Regions from separate parts of the Homo sapiens genome. Here region 1 is linked to region 2. Evidence: promoter capture Hi-C in 16 types of primary human blood cells and fetal thymus (Javierre and others, 2016). All regions are on one chromosome and are shown on one strand. The core of a region is centred on a gene start or on the middle of the fragment in contact, and the rest is flanking DNA. Distances in the headings are between cores, read along the strand shown.

Evidence for each region. The method cuts DNA at HindIII sites, captures the fragments that hold promoters and counts their contacts. A CHiCAGO score of 5 or more calls a contact.
Region 1: a contact is called between a fragment that was not itself captured here and the fragment with the promoter of PPCDC in region 2, in 1 of 17 cell types (total CD4 T cells). The highest score is 7.9, in total CD4 T cells.

What each region holds. Positions count from the first base shown.
Region 1 is chr15:74,048,670-74,052,413 of GRCh38, reverse strand. No RefSeq gene overlaps it. Among named protein-coding and RNA genes, the nearest start is that of GOLGA6A, 32 kb to the left of the region's middle. The HindIII fragment of the contact is 4,250 bases long and covers 152-3,744 here.
Region 2 is chr15:75,022,087-75,026,062 of GRCh38, reverse strand. PPCDC (phosphopantothenoylcysteine decarboxylase) reads right to left here and starts at 2,473. Exons shown (of 6, transcript NM_021823.5): 1 at 2,437-2,473. The HindIII fragment of the contact is 7,713 bases long and covers 1-3,976 here.

The DNA of each region.
Region 1 (3,744 bases), core at 1,027-3,526, 970 kb after region 2:
GGGAGGCCCGAGAGCGAGCCAGGGCTGCCAGCAGGCTGTCACCTCTCAGTAGGATTGTGAAGCATACAGCTGGAGCTTCCCAGGTGACATTCCCCACATCTGTCTTTCCCCTAACACTTTAGGGTAGTGGGGAAGCAAGAGAGCTTAAGCTTACTAAGCTCCTACCGTGTACTGGCCAGAGTGGGCACTTTTCTTTCCAGCCTTGCAATTGATGGGAAATAGGTGATTGTACAAATAGGATACAGGATCAGAGTGGGCTGGCGATGTGCTCACAGTCTCTCAGCTGAAACTGGAATCCAGGAGTCTTTGACTCTAAAGCTAGTGCTCGTTTTGGGTCTCCAGCTTAAGCAATAGTTGCAAAATGCAAAGAGCACCATGAAAATCTAATATTGATCCATGTAAGACTGTATTGCAAACAGAAACATGGAGTGACTTCGTGGGGGGTGACGGCGAGATGGGGAGATTATCTCAGGTCTATGTAACCTGGGAAGTCTCCGAGAAAAATGAATGAAGCATGACTAAGTGCAATTTGTCTGATAAACAAAATCTGTCAGAACGTGGGGCTTTGTGGGTCCTGAGTGAAGGTGAACCCATAGTGCTGGATATTTGCTAAGGTGTTCTTTATAAAATCACTCAGGGCCTCAGTGCCTCCACCTTCTTCATGACCCTAGGTCCACTTGCCTCGGCCTCCCAAAGTGCTGGGATTACAGGCATGAGCCACTGCGCCCAGCTGGTTGGTCTGACTTACTGTGCAATCAATCCACCCTGGGGTCGGCCAGGGCTTTAAGGCTCTAGAACTGTAGGAGATAGTCAGTGCTCCTGAATTCCACCCCCAGGCCTTCTGCACTCAGTCTGAGAGGAATGATTTCAGGAAATCAGACAAGCAACACAGGATTTCACAATATCTCATACTTGTCTGACTGGCTAGCATTTTGGAAAATTTCTGCGGTTAGCTAGCTAGCTTTTGTAATGTGCTTGGCTATCAAGTTTGGGATATTTATAATATTTATAAACTGAATTTAGCACAGTCCAGGCAGCTGGTCTTAGTTTAAGGAAGTTCCTTGAGCCAAGAATGAAGGAATTTTCCCCTCACTTGACAGCAAATGCATTTTGTAAGGGTGAACAGAGACGTCCAAACTTCCTGTTTTTTGTTTTTGTTTGTTTGGTTGTTTCATTTTGTTTTTGTTTGTTTGCTTTTAGTATGGGGAGAATCTGTTGAAATTCTAGACTCTTCTCTCAACAGAGTCTCCACAGGTATTTGCTTTATTCAGGTCCAGCGGGTCTGGAGCTGACATCTGGATTCAGAGACAAAAATAAGTGACGGTACTGGCCCCATTCCTCCCCTAGCCCCAGGCTCAGCCTGTGCCTGTGCCTGGGACCAGGACCAAGGCCACTACAGGCGAGTGTGTTCTCAGAAACCTGGATCTCCATTCCCTTCCATCTCCCTCCATCTGGCCCACCTAGTCTCCACCCACATAGAGGTGCAGCCCGCATCCCACCCACTCCTTCCCGTGACCACTTCTTACCTACATTGTAACGGGGTGGGGCCTTACCCTAAATCATGCATTCTCAACAGAGGCATTATCACCCCACAGAGGATGAAAAGGCAGGGGAGGAAGGGCAGTTGACCATCTTGGCTATTACCATGGTTTCTGACCCTCCAAAGGCTCACAGTCCATACATATGTCCATGTAAGGAAGAAGTAAAACCATCTCTATTCGCAGATGATGCGATCTTGTATCTAGAAAATCCTATGGAATGTACAGTGTATCTATGGTATTAAAATTTCATACAGGGAGGCACAATTGGGAAAAGATGCTAAAAATGCTCCTTAAGAGGACAATAATAATAATTATAAAAAGGTCCAGAAACACTGCCCTAAATGAAAAAATTAAAATGAAAGTTCAAGCACAGGGATGAGAAGGTGGGGGTAGCTTCCAGAGACCTGCCTTCTGCATCACCTGAGACTGACAACTCAGGAGAGCACAGAAAGGAGAGAAGGAGAGACCAGGCAGCCTGTCCCCCAACACGTGGCCATGCGCTCCATGATGTAGGCCACAGATGGTGCCAGTCTAGACACAGGCTCCCCGCAGGCAAATCCCAGCTCTGCCACATACAAGTTTAATGACCCTGACGAGGTACTCAGCCTTGCTGCCCTGCTGTGCTCCTCTGTAGGAGGAAGATGGGCTGTAACCACATAGGACAGTTGGGAAGATTAAAGGTTACTTGTGCTAAATGGTGAAATCGTGTCTGGTACCCAGTTGTCTTACCTGGTTGTCCCATGCTCTCCCTCCTGGGCAGGATTGCCCACTCCTCAGTCCCTCCAATCCGATTGGTGTACATTGACCTTGTTGGAGTTGTGAGCTCAGGCAGAGCCCCTGCCAGGTGCTTCTAGAAGAGGATTTGGGGGAAAAGGCAGATTGAACTTGGGGTGCCTATTAGGGGGTCGAGAAGCTCCTGCCCATCTGTTCACAGTTCCATGGACTTTTCAGTTACTAAAGTCACAAAGACTTGTGGCCTGAAGAGTGACTTTAACTCCATTTCTAACTAAATTCCTAACTCACCCCAATTCTAACTCAATTCCTAATTCCTAAGGTTTATTCTCAACCTTAAGCACCAAATGTGCCCCTCCATCTGATCTAATCCCAAATCCTAACCTGGGGCCTCCCCTGAACTTTAGCTCTAACCCTCACCCCGATTCTAAGCCCACCCCATCCTTACCCCAGTTCTAACTTGGGCCCTATCCTTAGCTGTGGAGCTCACCCTAAGTCCACTGGTAACCCAGTATTTCCCCAAATTAACAGGCCATTCACTTCCACAGTCATAAGTTTTCCTCTACCTGTGTCCCTTCCGAGTGTGGAGTTACTTACTATTTGTCCTAAGTGGATCTTTAAAGAATTCCACTTCAGCATCATTCTGAGCAACTAGATCCCAGAAATCACAATTTTTTTTTTTTTTTGAGATGGTGTCTCACTCTGTTGCCCAGGCTGGAGTGCAGTGGCACAATCTCAGCTCACTGCAGCCTCTGCCTCCCGGGTTCAAACAATTCTCCTGCCTCAGCCTCCCGAGTAGCTGGGCCTACAGGTGCACACCACCACACCCGGTTAATTTTTTGTATTTTTAGTAGAGAGAGGGTTTCACTGTGTTAGCCAGGATGATCTTGATCTCCTGACCTCATGATCCACCTGCCTTGGCCTCCCAAAGTGCTGGGATTACAGGCGTGAGCCATCACACCTGGCCAGAAATCAGACTTTCGATGAGCTGGTTGTATTGTTTCTTTTTTTCTTTTTCCTTTTTTTTTTTTTTTTTTTTTGAGACGGAATTTCACTCTTGTCATCTAGGCTGGAGTGCAGTGGCACAATCGCGGCTCACTGCAACCTCCTCTTCCCAGGTTCAAGCAATTCTCCTGCTTCAGAGCTTCCCGAATAGCTGGGATTGCAGGCACGGGCCACCACACCCAGCAAATTTTTGTATTTTTAGTAGAGACAGGTTTCACCATGTTGGCCAGGCTGGTCTCGAACTCCTGACCTCAAGTGAACCACCCGCGTCGGCCTCCCAAAGTGAGTGCTGGGATTACAGGTGTGAGCCACCGCGCATGGCCTGGTTGTATTGTTTCTAACAGATGTTAAACTAAATATAAAAGGTTTAACATTTTAAAAAAATGTTTCTCCACGTGCCTCGTATCTACAGTTATCTCCCATACCACAGGAAGCACGCATAGCACTTTAGAAAGGACTGAGCTGC
Region 2 (3,976 bases), core at 1,224-3,723:
TAGTGACTTCAACTGCTTCCCCACAGCAGGCACTATAGTCCGAAATACAGTACTTAGCCTGCTTAGCAAAGCTGTGCTAAGGATCAAACCTACCTACCTTCCTAAAAAAGAGGGTGTGTGTGTGTATGTGTGTGCTTAATATACTTGAAGAATAGAAAGTGGATCATTTAACCAACATTTGGAGGCGAGGTCCAATCAGTTCAACCTGAGAATTCCAGGAAGGGTGATGGCTGGCAGGATTCCTTCATTTGCTTGCAAAGAGGATCAAATTCCAAACCAGTAAGTCTATTACTGTAACCAGAACCTGTTGGAGTCACCTATTTGCACAGGTAGCTGTAGTACCTGACTTCCCCGGGCTCTGCTGAATTCACAGGAACTCCTGAGCAGCAAAAAGAGTTGGCAAGTGGGCAGGTTATAGGGCTACACGCTTTGATTACTGAGCCTCAAGATCCCAGGGCACTAGCCAAGCAGGTAAGCCACAGCCAGAAAAATGGCAGCTTCTCTATCCTCCAGAAAGACAGGGACAGACAGAGCAAAGAGCCTCAGCTTGTGATGTTTAAGTCTCCTCTGATGAGTTTAATTCAGGGCAGAGTTTTAGGTTTCAGGGATACCTGCCAGTCCCTATATGGGCAAAGGTGGAGCTGGCACAGAACCAGACTAAAGACAGAGCAAGGAAAGCAAGGCCAGACAGGGTATACGTTCAAGCTCAATACAGGAAGGATGAGAACTGAGCCTAAGACAAAGCAGAACCAAACAAGGGAAGTGGGTGGTGGGTAGGCAGGGATCCAAGATCCATTATGAGCCTGAATCCTTTAGCCTAACATCAAAGCCCCTCACTACCGGCTGCCCAGGCTTCTGCTCCAGCTTACACCTGTAATCCCAGCAATTTAAGAGGGCAAGGTGGGAGGATTGAGCAAACCCAGGTACTCGAGACCAGCCTGGGTAACATAGCAAGACCCCATACAAAAAATTTAAAAGTTAGTGAGGTGTGGTGGCACATGCCTGTGGTCTCAACTACTTGGGAGGCTGAGGCAGGAGGATCGCTTGAGCCTAGAAGGCTGCAGTGAGCCATGTTTGTGCCACTGCACTCCAGCCTGGGTGACAGAGAGAGACCATTTCAAAATATAATAATAGTACCACAAAAAAAAAAAAGTGTGTAGCTATTTACATAGCATTTACACTGTATCAGGTTTTATAAGTAATCTAGAGATTATTTAAATTATATGGAGGGCGTGGTGGCACGTGCCTGCAGTCCCAGCTACCTGGGAGGCTGAGGTGGGAGGATTATCTGAGCCCAGGGAGTTCGAAGATGCAGTGAGCTATGATTGCACCACTACACTCCAGCCTGGGAGACAAGAGTGAGACCCTGACTCAAAAAAAAAAAAAGAAAAGAAAAAAGAGTATACAGGAGGGTGATGTGGTGGCTCACACCTGTAATCCCAGCATTTTGAGAGGCCAAGGAAGGAGGATAGCTTGAGCCAGGAGTTTGAGACCAGCCTGGGCAACATGGTGAGACCCTGTCTCTACAAAAATGAAATAAAATAAAAATTAGCCGGGTATGGTTGTTTATGCCTGTGGTTCCAGCTACACAGGAGGCTGAGGCAGGAGGATCCCTTGAGCCCAGGAGGTCGAGGCTGCAGTGAGCCATGTTCCTGCCACTGCACTCCAGCCTGGGTCACAGAATGAGACCTTGTCTCAAAAAAAAAAAGTATACAGCAATCCCCTGCGGATACTGAGGGATAAATGTATCTAACACACACACTCACACACGTGGGCTACTAGAAAGGCAGTGACTGCGAATTGCTACTTCCCAGCCACTGTGAGAGATGTGGAAACCCCTGCTCCAGGACAACCACCACTTCCCCAACTTGGCAACCTCTCCTGCTCACCATCTAGCACCTGCTTCCAAATACTTCAAGGACAGCAGGAAGTTCTTTTCTGACAAGATTTGGCCTAATTTTTAAATAGCACTCAGCACTTTTTGGCAGGCCTAGGGCTACTTCCAACATCCCATGGCTTTCCTTTTTTAATTTTACCAACTTTTTAAATACACTTTGTACTTTGGGCAGCCCGGGTAAGCGTTCAGTGTGAGGAGCTGACACGGCCATCATTTAAACTAGATTAAACGACACTGGACAAATAATCGCAGAGCAGCACAAAGTCGGGCTGGACGGGTACAGATGCAAACCCTCCACTCAGGGCTCGGGGGTCCCTCCTGCTCCAGGCGGCCCCACCCGTACAGCCGGGAAAGTGAGGTCGCACAGATGGACGGCCGCCTACCCACGCACAGTCGCAAACAGAGCTTCATGGGCACACAGGGGAAAATAAGGACACACACAGACAGCCGTGGACCCACGCTCGCGGACACAGCTCCCCGAACCTCCCCTCCCGCGCCGCCGCGAGAACCCAGCTTCCCAGCCCCCTTCCACTGCTCACCCGCGCCAGGCGCGTCTCGGGGCCGCTCCCAAATATCGCGGTATCTCTGCCGCTCTCCCGCGGAATCTGACTGGCACGCCTCACGAGAGCACCGGGCTGGCTGTATGTCGCGCAGCCTTCTGGGAGCTGTAGTCCACTTCTCTGCCTTCCGGGAGTTGTAGTCCACTGGGGAAATCCTGGAGCAAACCCTGGCCCTGTTCTTTGTATTGCTGGGACTCTCGATAGGGGCTGGCATAACTGTCCGACCTCCTTTCCTCACTCCTATCAGCCCCACACACACTGCTTGTTGCTTGGGGCCTTTTTTTTTTTTTTTTTTTTTTTGCTGTTGTCCCAGGTTTATTGAAAATATTACAGTATCTCAAAAAGATTCAAACAGCTTCCACGTGGCGTTTTGAAATTCATCCCCACTGTTGGCTGAGTGACCTGCAGGTTGGACAGACTGCCAAAGTCCAAAAACATCAGCATTTCCTTAATGTCAGGATATGTTAATACTTCAATGATTTCCTGATCCAGGGCTGAGACCTCAGGAACATGATTATCTCTCCTTTCTCTCTTCTCCTCCTGCAACTTGATGCAGATACCTCTCACTGAGCGCTTCAAATCAGCTTCATCACATGCATGTTGTAGCCTGCTATCTTGTTGGGGAGCTGTTTTTTTTTTTGTTTTTTTTTTTTTTTTTGAGACAGGGTCTGGCTCTGTCACCCAGACTGGAGTGCGCAGTGGTGCTATCTCCACTCACTGCAACCTCCACCTTTTGGGCTTAAGCCATCCTCCTATCTCAGCCTATGGAGTAGCCAGGACTACAGGAGTGCACCATCATGCCAGACTAATGTTTGTATTTTTTGTAGAGACGGGTTCTCACTCTATTGCCCAGGCTGGTCTCAAACTCCTAGGCTCAAACAATCCGCCCACCTTGGCCTCCCAAAGTGCTGGGACTACAGGAGTGAGCCACCACGCTCGGCCCTGGGGAGCATTTTGCTGGAAATAATGGTGATCTCCTTGCACATGTGTTGTTTGTGTGGAAGTTGCTGCCCGGGTGTGTGTATTACTTTTTTATGACGAAGTATAGAAAAGGGCTATCTTCATGGTATTAGTGTGAATGGGGCCCATGTTGGCAGGTCCTTAGTAAAAGAGGGCTCGTGGCACTTAATATTTACCAAGCCTCTTCTATTTTAGGTGCACAGGATACAGAGATAAATCAGATGCGTCCCTGTTCTTGAGACAAACAGGGACACAGAAAATGACAGGGTAAGATCCTCCATGAGGAAGCAACACCTCTAGGCAGGAAAGCCTTCTTGAAGGAGTGACTTGAAATGAATCTTGAAGGACAGCCAGGAGGTTAGATAGAGGATCCCAATAGCGATCCAGGTGGAAGGCATCAAATGGGCAAAGGGAAGGCGGCAGAAGAACACACACTGGCATGCTTCCCTGCCCCCTTCATTTTCTAGCCTTCACAGGCCCCAGGAACCTCTGTATTCATTGAGGTGGCTGAACCAGCTGCGGGTCCCCTGCCCTGAGCTGAGGTGGGGCCTCTGCTCTA